3 separate regions of the Homo sapiens genome follow, and all the other regions are linked to region 3. Evidence: promoter capture Hi-C in 16 types of primary human blood cells and fetal thymus (Javierre and others, 2016). All regions are on one chromosome and are shown on one strand. The core of a region is centred on a gene start or on the middle of the fragment in contact, and the rest is flanking DNA. Distances in the headings are between cores, read along the strand shown.

What was found. The method cuts DNA at HindIII sites, captures the fragments that hold promoters and counts their contacts. A CHiCAGO score of 5 or more calls a contact.
Region 1: a fragment that was not itself captured here is called in contact with the fragment with the promoter of NEUROD1 in region 3 in 2 of 17 cell types (endothelial precursors and naive CD8 T cells); the score reaches 7.5 in endothelial precursors.
Region 2: a contact is called between a fragment that was not itself captured here and the fragment with the promoter of NEUROD1 in region 3, in 1 of 17 cell types (total CD4 T cells). The highest score is 6.8, in total CD4 T cells.

Annotation. Positions count from the first base shown.
Region 1 is chr2:180,103,656-180,108,250 of GRCh38, reverse strand. No RefSeq gene overlaps it. Among named protein-coding and RNA genes, the nearest start is that of EPCART, 19 kb to the left of the region's middle. The HindIII fragment of the contact is 1,324 bases long and covers 2,035-3,358 here.
Region 2 is chr2:180,122,736-180,127,584 of GRCh38, reverse strand. EPCART (ERG-positive prostate cancer associated androgen responsive transcript) reads left to right here and starts at 2,391. Exons shown (of 4, transcript XR_923634.3): 1 at 2,391-2,905; 2 at 4,157-4,252. The HindIII fragment of the contact is 4,841 bases long and covers 539-4,849 here.
Region 3 is chr2:181,677,283-181,682,322 of GRCh38, reverse strand. NEUROD1 (neuronal differentiation 1) reads left to right here and starts at 1,806. Exons shown (of 2, transcript NM_002500.5): 1 at 1,806-1,893; 2 at 3,452-5,040. The coding sequence starts at 3,463. The coding sequence ends at 4,533. RefSeq lists an enhancer at 580-1,156. The HindIII fragment of the contact is 9,386 bases long and covers 1-4,650 here.

The DNA of each region.
Region 1 (4,595 bases), core at 1,447-3,946, 1.6 Mb after region 3:
TTTAACCAAAGATACCATCTTAAGAATTACTTTTTCAAAATAAATATTTTACTGATTTGTTTTGACTTTAAACCTTAGGCAAGAGATTGATTGGAGATTTTAGTTTTCATATAATAGCAAATGAGGTGTTTCCTTCTTAAAAACATTCTTCAGGAAAGGAAAAATCTCTTTTCATTAATTCATCTCTAAACCCACAGTGCAAAATGTAAATTTCCCTTACAGATTGAAACATATCAGGTAATCCCTGCATGTCCTTATCTTTCTTAGAGAGATAACTACTGAAGCCTTTTGTTTCTCTCCAGACTGATCATCCGGACTGGGCCAGCAGCATGTGTGTCGGTGATCCCTTGGGTTCCTATCACTTTCATCCTGGGAATTCCCTTGGTGTCTTATCAATGCCTGGACCCTTGTTTCCTGGATCCCATGTCAACTTTCTGGTTTACTCCTTTATTGTGATGAAAATTCCCTAGTTAATTTCTAAGGAAATATGCTTCATAGGCCAATATTTTGAGACTTTGTGTTTAGAAAATTTTTTTAAATCTTCACACTCCATTGACAGTCTTTCTGAACATAAAAATTCTCAAAGTCCTGTCTGTTTTTACTTTTGCTCTATTTTCTGGACATTTCTCAATTTTTCTGACACTTCTAAAGACCTTTTAACATGTCTGTTAGCAATTTTTCTCAAGAATTTTTTTATTCTCAAAGTTTATCTTATGTCTTGTTTGAAGAAAACCATCTCTAGCCAGATGCAATGGCCTGTGCCTGTGGTCCTAGCTACTAGGGAGGCTGAGGCAGGAGGATCGCTTGAGCCTAGCAGTTATGGGAGATGGAGACCAACTAGCCTGAGAAATGTACTGAGACGCTGTCTCTGAAAAGGGGGGTGAAGGAGGATGTATCCTTTTCTTGTTTAGGAGATGCGATATCTTCTGTAGTACATATTACTAACATTAATATCTGGTTCTCCTCCTCTTGTGCACACAAGGGCAGACTACACTTTCCTACACCTTGAAGTTAGCATGGCCATAAGTCTTATTTCAGGCAAATCATTAGAAAAAAACTAATCTTGTCATTTCTAGATGGAAGTATTTAAATGAAGTGGTTAAATCTCCAGTTTTTTCGTATCATAGTGATGCATAGTGATGTATTGATATGAAAATCAAAGCAGCTTGGAATACTGAACCAATACATAGAGAACAGCTAGAGAGTCAGCTGGAGAGACACCTGGGCCTGCATAGATATTGCTCGAGCAAGCAAAAAAAAATTTAGTTGTATTTAGGCAGATTTGGGGGTTGTTTGTTATGCTAGCCTAAGTTATGCTATCTTGACCAATTCAATCACTGGGACCACAGTGGGGCACTGCCATAACAATAAATATCAAATATGTAACATTGGCTCAGTGTCGAGATAGCAGGGAGTGAAGAAACTAATATTGAAGGCAGGAAAGATGGTGATTCGTGCTTTTTAGTGGCAAAATATTTGGTACAACTATGAACCTGGAGAAGGATTATGTTATTTAATGATCTCATATTTCCAAATGTAGAGGAAGGAAAAGTAGAACTAAATTCTGTGATAGGTCTCTGTGGGTAATGCTTGATGGCATATTACAAGAAATACATGAGATCAGAAAAAAAAAACTGTTCAGCCTTCAAGTAGGAATGAAAAGAATGAAAGAAAATTAGCCCAGAAATTGGAGAACATATTAGGTTAGAAGAGAGAACTAATTTTCAAATTTAAAATTAAGAAAGTTTTAAAGCAAGGGAAGCTCATTAAAACTCACCCTTAAGCAAGGATCAAAGTAAGGAGATAGCGGCCATGACCATTACCAAAACCTCTGTGTGGTTTAAATGTTCTCAGGTCACCCAGTAAATTCTTTCAATTGATAAAATAGCATAAGGAGATGTTAAGTGGTGCTTCTCATTAACAATCTTAAGCTGTTAAATAGCCTCAGAAATGAATGCTCCAATCTCCTGCCTGAGGAACATAAGCCTAAGAAGCAATCTTAGCTACGTGGAGGAAGGGAGGGAGCTGGAAGCTTTTATGTTCAATATGAACACTTTGATTTAATCTCACTGTTCAAGATGACACCCATCTTCCTGAACTGAGTCAGATGTCCCAAAGCTCTCTAGATAATAAACCTCCATTTTCCTGCTCAATGCATATAATGTAGTTATTATTACCTCCCATTCCTAGTTCTTTTTTTCTTTCTGAGTTCATCCCCTTTTAATCCCTTCTCTATCATTTTAGTAGAATTACAGGAGAGAACCAAGGTAAACATGTGTCCAATCTACCATGCTTAACCTGATCTACCCTTACCTGGCCTTCCTACTTCCTCTCCAGTGCCCTGTAAATCATTCTCAACACCAGAGCCAGAATGATCTTTTAAAACATAATTCATATCATCTCTTTATTTTAAACTCTCTAGTGGATTTCTATTGCATTTGAGTAAAACTCAACCCACTAATCTGAGCCTTGGGTATATTTCTGATCGCATCTCACATCATTTGTCCCTTCATCCTCTATGTTTAAGCCACTCAAGATTTCTGTATGAACATGCCTAAACCATTTACCTCTTAGGATCTTCTCACTTGCTATTTCTTCTCCCAGGAATCTTCTGTCACTAAGTCTATATAAGTCCAGTTATTTCTCGTTTAGTTCTCAAAATATGACCTCTACAGAAATGTCTTTAACCATGCAGAGTACTAAGTCTACGATAGCCTGATTCCACTGCCTCCCAGTCTCTCTATATAAAATCTCCCTGCTTTATTTTTTGTAGTATTTTTTATTCTCTTAATTATCCCATTAATATATAATATACTATATATTATCTATGTCTTCCTCCAGCCAAATCCCTCTCCAAAAGAATATAAACTCAGGAGATCTTGTTTTCTTATTCTTGAAAACTTACCTACCATGGAATATTACCTGGCAAGATTAAGCCTCTAGTATACCTTTAAATGTTATACTGAGACATGACTGAGTGAATCATGCCTGGACTATATTCTAAATCAGAATTATTTATGTGCTTCATTTATCATTTCTGTCAATTTGGAGACTATTTTTTAAAAGTATATGAGAATATTTCTTCCCTCTATGTAAAAATAATTTCCAGAAGTCTCCCTTCTGATAACAATAGATAAAATACAAAAAATAAAATACAAATAAAAATTAGAGCACTACTGTGACAATGATTGAGGGGGCAAGGTCATGAACAGAAAGGAACCACAGACGGGTAAGCCAACATTCTGTTAGTTCATTTTTCCTTTTATTTGTCAATTCAAAATTAGAGCTTGCAAGAGTAGAGACCAGAATTCCTAGCAGAGAAAAAACCCTGATAAGAAGTGGAGAAGACACCAAAGCTTTTGGCAATATTACTGTAGAAAGAAAGAAATGTAAAACAGTAGAAATGTTAAGTATAAGGAAAAATCTAAATAAATGTCAATGTTAATCAATAACAATAATAATGTCTTATAAAGGTTTGCATATGTGTAGAATTTCAATGGCTGGCCAAAATAACATAAATGGCAAAAGTTGGGGGAGTAAATGTAGTGTTCTAAGTATTTTACATGTCTAGGAAGTAGAAAAAAATACAAATTCATATTTGACTCTATTAAGTAATGAATGTGTGTTTAAAATCACAGGGGTTACCACTGAAAGAATTATTTTTAAGGATGTATAACTATAAAGCTAGTCGACGGCTGGGCGTGGTGGCTCTCACCTGTAATCCCAGCATTTTGAGAGGCCAAGGCAGGCGGATGACTTGAGGTCAGGAGTTCGACACCAGCCTGGCCAACATGGTGAAACCCCATCTCTACAAAAAATACAAAAATCAGCCGGGTGTGATGACGGGCACCTGTAATCCCAGCTACTTGGGAGGCTGAGGCAGGAGAATCACTTGAACCCAAGGAGGCAGAGGCTGCAGTGAGCCAAGATTGCACCACTGTACTCCAGCCGGGGTGACAATAGCAAAACTCTGTTTCAAAAAGTAAGAAGATGAAAATAAAAAGGTAGTTGGAAAAAAAAGAAAATAAATTTTAAGATTTTGATTGATCCAAATGAAGGTTGAAAAAAGAAAAAATTAAAAACAAGTGGGAATTATAAGATAAATGATAAGATGGTAGATACAAAACTCAAATCAGTAATCACATAAAGCACAAATTGACTCATTAGTCCAATTAAAATATTATCAGACTGGATTTAAAAGAAACTATAATGCTAATTACAAGAAACACTTTAAATATACGTGCACAGAGAGGTTGAAGGATGAAAATATGCAAACATGAACCAACAAAAAGTTACTGTAGCTATTTAATACAAAACATACTTGAAGACAAGAAGTATTCCTAGATAGAGAAAGCAATATTTTGTATTTTATGATACTAAGTAATCAATTGACTAGGAATAATTGTAGTTCTAAATTTATATGCACTAAATAATGCAGTTTTAAATATATAAAACAAACGTGTGGCTAGGGGCGGTGGCTCATGCCTGTAATCTCAGCACTTTGGGAGGCTGAGGAGGGCAGATCACCTGAGGTCAGGAGTTTGAGACCAGCCTGGCTAACATGGTGAAACCCCATTTCTACTAAAAATACAAAA
Region 2 (4,849 bases), core at 1,710-4,209, 1.6 Mb after region 3:
GATTGCCTAAATTATTTATAGGTCATGCTGCCTTAGAGATATCTATAGTAATGAAATAAATCCTCAGAATCCAAGAAACCTTTGTCTGGTACACAAGACGCCTTAGTAGTCTATACCTTTTTTTAATTCTCCAAACTGCCCATAAGTCAATGAGTTTGGAAACCAAAAAATCAGTGTGACTTGCTTAGGAAAAGAATCACTTAGGAAAAAAATCACTTGAAAAAAGAGCATTGATCCTCTAAATGAACCAATTTCAAATTTCTATAGTTTTGGCCCTGACATATCCTTAAGTCAAAATGGAAAAGAAATCTGATTCCCTATTCTTTAATTCACTTTCCTTTTTTTCCAGCCTGTTCCACTTTTTCCTTGGGCTCCCTTTTCCCAAAGCTCCCAATTTTCTCACCTAGTCTTTATTCACAGACAATGACTTAATCAACTTTTGTGGGATTAAGGACCTAACAAATTATTTCTTTTAGTACCATTTACATTTCCTAAGTGGTACACCTAGAGAAGGATTAATAAGGTATCACCGAAAGCTTCTGGAGATGGTTTCTAGATGCCCCTTGGTGCAAAGAATTAAGCCTATACTTCTATACTAAGTTGAAGTATATTTCATACTTCACATGTCACAATTATATTTCCCTCCAGCTTTCATTCTACCTATTATTAAGAATTTTACATGGAAACATATAGGATTTTCCAGGATAAAGAAAATCTTTTACAAAGAGTTTCATGAAACTCACTTTGTTCCATACAAAAGGAGTTTTGGTTATAGACCAATATCCAACTCTAGTGAGTAGTTCTACAGTTTTTCAAGCAATTATGATAGAATGTTTTCATTCTCTCTAGTCAGTGTGAGCTCCTAAGATTAAATTCACAGCTTTTCATCAAGGCTGATGTAACTTTCTTACTATCATATCCTTTAAAATAAGGACTGTAGCCTGAGGGTACCTAAGAACATGTGGCAGAAGGCAAAAACAGAAGGTTTTTACAGTTTAGAATATTTTAAACTCAGAATATTGACTATATATTTTTGGTCAGAATTTTTCTTTTAAGTAGCAGTAATATGCCCATTTTGTAGCCACAGTTTTAAATTTTCAGTCTTCACCCCTCCAAAACAAAACAAAACACAAAACAGAACAACAAGTGAGAAGGAGGAGGGGGAAAGAGAGAAGGAGGTGGTGTGGGGTGGAGAGGAGATGATGCCCCCTTCTGTCATACAACAAAATCCATTTCGAATATCGAAACTTGCCAAGATCAAAACTGGCCAAAACAACAAACTCCACTGTTGAAATTGACAGTACGGTATAAGACAATAACCCAGGTTTCTCAATTGAAATAACTTTGCCACAAATTTCATCTCAACGTCTTTAATATCATGGTTCCCAGCCCTTCATGCTCATTAGTATCCCCTGGGAAGATTTAAAGCTGTACTGATGCCCTAAAACCATTCTCCTGATTCTGATGTGGTTGGTCTAGGGTGCAGCCTGGGCATCAGGAGATTTAAAAGCTCCCAGGGAATTGTATGTGCAGGTACTCAGTGTTTATCAAAAGACAGAAGACACAGCTATTCCAGACACCTGTTTGAACTGATTGATGGCAACCCAGCTTCATTAGATGTCTACCTAGTGTTGAATCTTTGTAGCATCCCCCACATTTGTTCCGTGAAACAGGGACAATAGGAGATCACAGTCTTACATAGCTCTCTGACCCATTAATCAACGGGTTGTTCCTCTCTGGTTCTCTCTGTGGGTTCTGACTCATGCTGCAGTAGAGAAAAAAGACAAACAGCCTAGCCAATAAACGACCGCTGCTACGCGATCTCCTTTGACTACAGTAAAGGGCCAGAAACTGCCTTTGGGAGTGCAGAGACAGTGTAGGAACGATGCTGCCATCTGGCTGCCTTCCTGGGCATCTCTTTAAAAAAAAAAAAAAAAAAAAAGTGAGTTACTAATCATACTCTCCTACATTTACACATTAGATACAGGCTTCACTATTCCTTTGCAGTGAGGACTCCTCAGTGACAGGCAGAACCCAAAGGGAGAGCAAAGCAGCCCAAGGGGAGCAGAGCAACCCAAAGGGAAAGCAGAGTAGGCCAAGTAGAACAAATGCTCGCCTTAAACTTTTTTTTCCTTTTTGAGACAGGGTCTCACTCTGTTGCCTAGGGTGGAATGCAGTGGCGCCATCTTGGCTCACTGCAGCCTCAACCTCCCGGGCCCAACGGATTCTCCTACCTCAGCCTTCTGAGTAGCTTGGGACAGCCGTGCACCACCACGCCCAGCTAATTTTTTGTTTGTTTGTTTTTGTACAGACAGGGTTTCAGCATGCTGCCCAGGCTGGTCTTGAACTCCTGGGCTCAAGTGATCCACCTGACTCAGCCTCCCAAAGTGCTGGGATTAAAGGGGTGAGCCACTGTACCTGGCAACACCTTTAAAAATTTCTTCACCCACCTATCCACCTTTAAAGTTGTTCTTTGAGGGCTTTCAGGAATGAGGTTAATCCAAATAGGATAAGGCAGTTTTGTTCCCAGGAAGTATTTAACACACTGGTTCTCAACTTTCCTACACATTAGAATCACCTCGGGGAGGTTTGTGAAAATGCAGATTGCTGGTCTCCACTCCCATCCAATTCAGTAGGTCCGAGCTGAAGTCTGAGAATTTGCAATTGTAACAACCTCCCAGATGACACTGCTGGTCTGGGAAATCACACTTTGAAAACCACTGAACAAATTGTCAAAAAATAATTGCTGACAGTCAGTAATGTAATAAATCCATTAGCCCCCTCCAGCCAAGGAGGGAAGACTGGGTAAAGAAGCCATAGACGGTGGCAGTGACCGGGGTCAAAAGATGTTGCCACTATGGGGTTGTTCCTAGGTATCTATGGAGTAGCATACCAAAAAGGCCAGGTAAGAAGAAGTGGTATGGATGAGGATTAGACGAAAAATGCCTCTTCATTGTTTTGCCTGGGCTCCTCAGAGACTTGTGGGAAATATTGCATCGTCTCTTAACTAAATATTAAATCATCCCTGTGCATCTAATTTAGTGGGGGGCAGACCTGTTTCACAAGCCAAAATAACAGGCTGCAATAACTGAGGATTTTATATATACCCTGACCAAAGAAGTTTGCATTCTCATAGCACCATCTAGTGGAAATTTGGGGATTTTTGTTTTACATCGAACAGCCTAAAATGGAGATAGTTTATGTTATTATGACAGGGAGAGAAGACTGCACGATTTGCTAATTGAGGTGCAATACAGACAAGTAAACAAAAACAGGAAAAATGTGGCTTATGTGAAAGACATTTTTTAACCATATACAACATGTTCTATAAAAACAGAGCAAAGCCGTTAGCTGAGGAACTTGTGTGCACAAAGAAATATGTACAAATAGCTTTTCCAGAACAGTCTAGTAAAAATATGTAGTAAAAGTGGGAAGATTATGTTATATAGAAATATATGTTTATGTGCTGTGTTTATATGCCACAGCCTCAAACCTTCTTATAACTTATTAACAATTATATGAAAATATAGGAACAAAGCTCATGTTCTGTATGAATACAACAGGATTCAAATAACCACATACATTACAAAGAGTTGAATAAATTGAATTCTCTATTTTCTACTGTATAGTCAAGGAAGAGACAGAGTAAGGAGGAAAACAGTTGTCAAATCTGCTGGTGGTTCTGAGAAGGGATCAGAGAGGTAAAAATGCAAGGTGTTAAAAATCTGTTTTACTGGCCCACAAAATGTTGTTTGCAAAACTCTGTTCTAGATGAGCTGATAGTTTAAGGGTAACTGTTTCACTAAATGGTTTGAACTCAATGGATATTAATCAGAAGCAATTTTCTTTTTCTAATCATATGATTGGTCAACTTCTGCTTTCTTGCCCCTGAATGATATCTCAGGCAGATTCCATTGATAATTGATCATTGTCATAGTTCATATAAATCATGTAATTTTACCTAGCTCAGCTTGTAAAACAGGCGCCCCAAAGGGGTCTGGCCTGCCCCTCCTCCCGACTCCAAAACCATGAAGCCAATCTGGTTGCACAAAACCTCTTCTTTCTCCACATCAAGATCTAGCTTCTTTAATGACTTGAGGTGGGATCAGAGGAGAAGAAACAAAATAGTCTCTTCACCCAATTCTTTTTGTTGCAGAATTTTCTGTTGGGTATTGCTGCTCATCTAGAAAACACCAGCTACCAATAGATGTCCTCTCTGTGCCGAAATACTGCTTACCTCAGGGGATATTGGGTAAGTTCAGAAGGCCCTGAAGAGTCTCCCTGACATGGTAAATCCAACTCTAGCCAGTCTTTCCTACCCCTTTACAGCTTCCCCCATTAACCTCTTCCCACTGGAGTATCTACAGCCTGTAAATAGGACTCAGGTGGAAGTACTGCTAAGATGACTCAGGTTCAGCTACTTTTCCCCATATCCACGCAGCCTTTGGGAGATTTGTACATTCTTGTCACTCCAAAGCCAGAATCTTCTCTGTTCCATGGCAACCACCTTCTTTGTTTCTCTCCACAGGCTGCTTCTCCCTGACTCAGCGTCTGATTAAGGAAATAGCCAGTTGGGAAATAAGATACTGATTCCCTTCTTTTAGTGCCACCCACAATCTCATAAGGGAGGAGTATGAGGCTTCTCACCCCATAAGCACTTCATGTGGAGGACTTTGGGCTCCTTTCTCCTCCCAATTGTCCCTCTATAGCTTCCCTTCTGCTAGCCCAAATCTGCCTAGTTGTATTAATCATGATCCAAGAGAGAAAAAAGAAACCTTGGATTGATGGCAGCAGAAAGCCACTGCCACCTTCACCTGGAGGGACCCACAGGTCCAGGGTCCAGGGCCCA
Region 3 (5,040 bases), core at 557-3,056:
TCTTCCTCTACCCCTACTCTCTCCTCCCGTCCCCACCCTCTCCCAGATGCACCCCAATCCAGCCTCTCAACCCTGTCGCTGTTTGCAAACTCGAGGGATGTTTAGTGCAATTGCCTTTAAATAAGCAATTCACGTAAGAGGTATTTATTGCAGAGGGTTTCAGGTCTGGGAGGGGGTAAGGAGTTAGTTAATGAAGGATTAGAGGCAAAGCTGGGAAAGAACGAGTAGACAGGCCAGTTTCTTTCTTTCTTTTTAAAATCTATTATTCTGGAAAACCCTTGTTCGAAAAGAGTAAAGAATTGCTATTTGGGCAACAATATGGCTCCTTCAGAACTGGTCGAGAATTTCTGTGGTCTTTGCTTGACCTTCAAGTTGGGAGTTTCAAATCAGAGGCTTTGAAGTCTGGAGGAGTTCGCAGCCATTAATCCTTCCGGGGTTGTGCTAAAGGCGTTTCTAGAAAGAGATCGGAAAGACCCGTTCAGCACAGGCCCATTGCATCTTCTCTTTGAAAACGCTTGTCTGAATCAAGTATCTTATACAGACCCGAGACTGAGGGGAGCAAGAGCGCAGGTCCGGCTGTGGCGAGGTGTCCACCACCGTACTTGTGGTCAATGCCTGGACTAGAGAGCCGAGGCCGTCCAGGGCGGGCTGGCCAGGGAACCAGAAGCGTCCCTGGACTGGCTGAGTGAGGGTGCCCTTTCCAGCAACCCAGTGGCCATGGTTAAAAGGCAGAATACAACCGTCAAAGAAGTCCCCAGCTCCCACATAAGAGAGCGCAAAGGCCAATGGAACCAAGGCCTCCTCGCGAGAACTAGCTCGCTTTGAGGACAAGATCCTGGGGATGGAGGTGGGGACTGACGTAGTGAGAGGGTCTGGAGGAACAGTCGTAGCTGAAGGTCAGGACATGAAGAATTGCACGTATGGTAGGGATAGAATGGCAGGTACAACTTTTCTGTACTGAAGGAACTGGGAGAGGACGATCCGGTTAGGGAGGTTGGGGAACTAATCTCAACGCTGCGTTTACAGATGAAGCCGCTTTTATATGGCGTATATGTTTGCTTAGAGGGGCCGACGGAGATTAGGAGAAGCCATCCTTTGGCGCCAATGATCAAAGCGTCTGCCAAGGAGAAGAAGCCAAGGGATGGGCCTTTCAGAGAGGGCAAGGAGTCATGCTGCTCTGGATGCCAGTGTCAGGACAAGAAATCGAAAGGAGCGAGGACTCTTCACTGCGTGCCTCAGTCTCCCCGCTTCTGCCTCTTTCACCTCTGTCCTACTTCCGGCGCGAAAGCAGGCCACTCGCTCTGATCTAGACCTAGTTAACATTAGCTTTTCCCTTCCTTCCCTCAAATCCCCTCCCCCCTCTATCCCCGTCCCTTCTGCCGCCTGAAAGGGTTAATCTCTCCTGCGGGTAAAAACAGGTCCGCGGAGTCTCTAACTGGCGACAGATGGGCCACTTTCTTCTGGCCACAAAGGGGCCGGAATGGAGCGCTCCGCGGCATACAAATGGGCAGGTCACGTGGTTCCAGGCTCTTGGCTGGACCGGGAAGACCATATGGCGCATGCCGGGGAGGAAGGAGGAGGGGCGGGGGTAGGGGTGGAGGGTGAGGGGAGCGGTTGTCGGAGGAGGGCGGGAGACGAGCAAGGCGTGGGGAGAAGTGGGGAGGAGGGGAGAACGGGGAGCGCACAGCCTGGACGCGTGCGCAGGCGTCAGGCGCATAGACCTGCTAGCCCCTCAGCTAGCGGCCCCGCCCGCGCTTAGCATCACTAACTGGGCTATATAACCTGAGCGCCCGCGCGGCCACGACACGAGGAATTCGCCCACGCAGGAGGCGCGGCGTCCGGAGGCCCCAGGGTTATGAGACTATCACTGCTCAGGACCTACTAACAACAAAGGTAATTACAGTTCTTTCATTTTTTTGCCCCAGAATAGAAGCAATAACTGAAGACTGATGAACCTACATATTCTGTATGTGTGCGTTTGCGAGAGTGTGTATGTGTATTGAGACCAGCATCCCCCTCCATAATTGCCCATAAGTACTCACACATAATGAGTCGTGTCACTCAAGTACCCCCTGCAGGCTTTCTAATTTAAATTTTAAAAATTTGGGTTTCTTTTGTGGATAGCATAGGAGCTTCTTGGATTTTTTAAAAGAATGCACGGTAACTATGATTATCTGCTAGTGCTGATTTTAAAGTCCCAAAAGCAATAATGACTTCACTTTCTCACTTCTTACAGTAAGAAAAAAAAATCTATGTTATCAATATATATTTTGTGTGCATGTATTTTACGCACATTGGGAGTGTCAAGCTGTGTTTTCAGTGAATGAAAGGGACATGGATACCTTGAGTATTCACACCATGGAAAATAAATCAGGTTCAGAGATAGTTTAGTTGAGAGGGGGGAAAGTGGAGAAAGGGAGAGGGACTCACTCCTGCTACCTGTTACCGCTCCAGAGGCGGCCAAGTCCCCAGCAGCCACTACTGGAGCCAGAAATTCAGTTGTTTTACTAAAGGCTTTTTATTTTCCTTACTAGAAGCGGCAACTTCGCGGTTGCCAATCGCTGACCATTATAATTACTCAATCTTTTAAAGGGAGGTTTGAGGCGAACTTTGAAAAGCCCCAATAAAGAGCGGGCGGCCCTTTCAATGGGCTGTTTATTAGAGAGGAGCCTTCCGCACCTGATCCCCGGCGCGTGGGAGAGCGCTCTGCGCCGCGCCCCCAGCCCTCGCCCTGCAGCTAGCGCTTTTGTACAAGGTGGAAATTTAGCGGTGGGCCAGAGATGGAAGGCAAGAAAAGAAAGGCGAGGGAGGGGTGGAAGACCCTGTCCACTTTTGTTGCCAAATGTTACATTGATGGTGAAACAATTTGGTGGAAACTATTTTTCCTCCTTTCTGCATTTGCTTTTCAGTATCCCGTCGATGTAATCTTCTTAAAAATCGCTGCCAGTATTAGTAAATTACGCAATGGCTGTTCAACTTAAATCGCTAAGTATCTGGAAGCCAGGACAGAAATGGAAGTAGAATGTGTGATTTTACAGCTTTTTTTTTTTTTTATGGAGTTGTGAGTAACTTTGAACACATTTGGATAAACATGAAGTCGCTGAAATGTACAGTCATTTCCACACACATTATCCTGTCGGGCAACCACCATAAACACATTTAAGTTAATCACTAGGATACAAACACATATGCGTGAGTGGTGTACACATATACATATTCACTACCCTCCCCCAGTCCTGTCCTCACTCCTACGTACTAGCGGGGCACACGCACGCGCCATTATAAAACACTGCATTTAACTTTTTCTCAGAGGCATTCATTTTGTAATGGGCAGGTACTTTTCGCAAGCATTTGTACAGGTTTAGGGAGTGGAAGCTGAAGGCGTATCTGGCTTTTGAATATAGCGTTTTTCTGCTTTTCTTTCTGTTTGCCTCTCCCTTGTTGAATGTAGGAAATCGAAACATGACCAAATCGTACAGCGAGAGTGGGCTGATGGGCGAGCCTCAGCCCCAAGGTCCTCCAAGCTGGACAGACGAGTGTCTCAGTTCTCAGGACGAGGAGCACGAGGCAGACAAGAAGGAGGACGACCTCGAAACCATGAACGCAGAGGAGGACTCACTGAGGAACGGGGGAGAGGAGGAGGACGAAGATGAGGACCTGGAAGAGGAGGAAGAAGAGGAAGAGGAGGATGACGATCAAAAGCCCAAGAGACGCGGCCCCAAAAAGAAGAAGATGACTAAGGCTCGCCTGGAGCGTTTTAAATTGAGACGCATGAAGGCTAACGCCCGGGAGCGGAACCGCATGCACGGACTGAACGCGGCGCTAGACAACCTGCGCAAGGTGGTGCCTTGCTATTCTAAGACGCAGAAGCTGTCCAAAATCGAGACTCTGCGCTTGGCCAAGAACTACATCTGGGCTCTGTCGGAGATCCTGCGCTCAGGCAAAAGCCCAGACCTGGTCTCCTTCGTTCAGACGCTTTGCAAGGGCTTATCCCAACCCACCACCAACCTGGTTGCGGGCTGCCTGCAACTCAATCCTCGGACTTTTCTGCCTGAGCAGAACCAGGACATGCCCCCCCACCTGCCGACGGCCAGCGCTTCCTTCCCTGTACACCCCTACTCCTACCAGTCGCCTGGGCTGCCCAGTCCGCCTTACGGTACCATGGACAGCTCCCATGTCTTCCACGTTAAGCCTCCGCCGCACGCCTACAGCGCAGCGCTGGAGCCCTTCTTTGAAAGCCCTCTGACTGATTGCACCAGCCCTTCCTTTGATGGACCCCTCAGCCCGCCGCTCAGCATCAATGGCAACTTCTCTTTCAAACACGAACCGTCCGCCGAGTTTGAGAAAAATTATGCCTTTACCATGCACTATCCTGCAGCGACACTGGCAGGGGCCCAAAGCCACGGATCAATCTTCTCAGGCACCGCTGCCCCTCGCTGCGAGATCCCCATAGACAATATTATGTCCTTCGATAGCCATTCACATCATGAGCGAGTCATGAGTGCCCAGCTCAATGCCATATTTCATGATTAGAGGCACGCCAGTTTCACCATTTCCGGGAAACGAACCCACTGTGCTTACAGTGACTGTCGTGTTTACAAAAGGCAGCCCTTTGGGTACTACTGCTGCAAAGTGCAAATACTCCAAGCTTCAAGTGATATATGTATTTATTGTCATTACTGCCTTTGGAAGAAACAGGGGATCAAAGTTCCTGTTCACCTTATGTATTATTTTCTATAGCTCTTCTATTTAAAAAATAAAAAAATACAGTAAAGTTTAAAAAATACACCACGAATTTGGTGTGGCTGTATTCAGATCGTATTAATTATCTGATCGGGATAACAAAATCACAAGCAATAATTAGGATCTATGCAATTTTTAAACTAGTAATGGGCCAATTAAAATATATATAAATATATATTTTTCAACCAGCATTTTACTACTTGTTACCTTTCCCATGCTGAATTATTTTGTTGTGATTTTGTACAGAATTTTTAATGACTTTTTATAATGTGGATTTCCTATTTTAAAACCATGCAG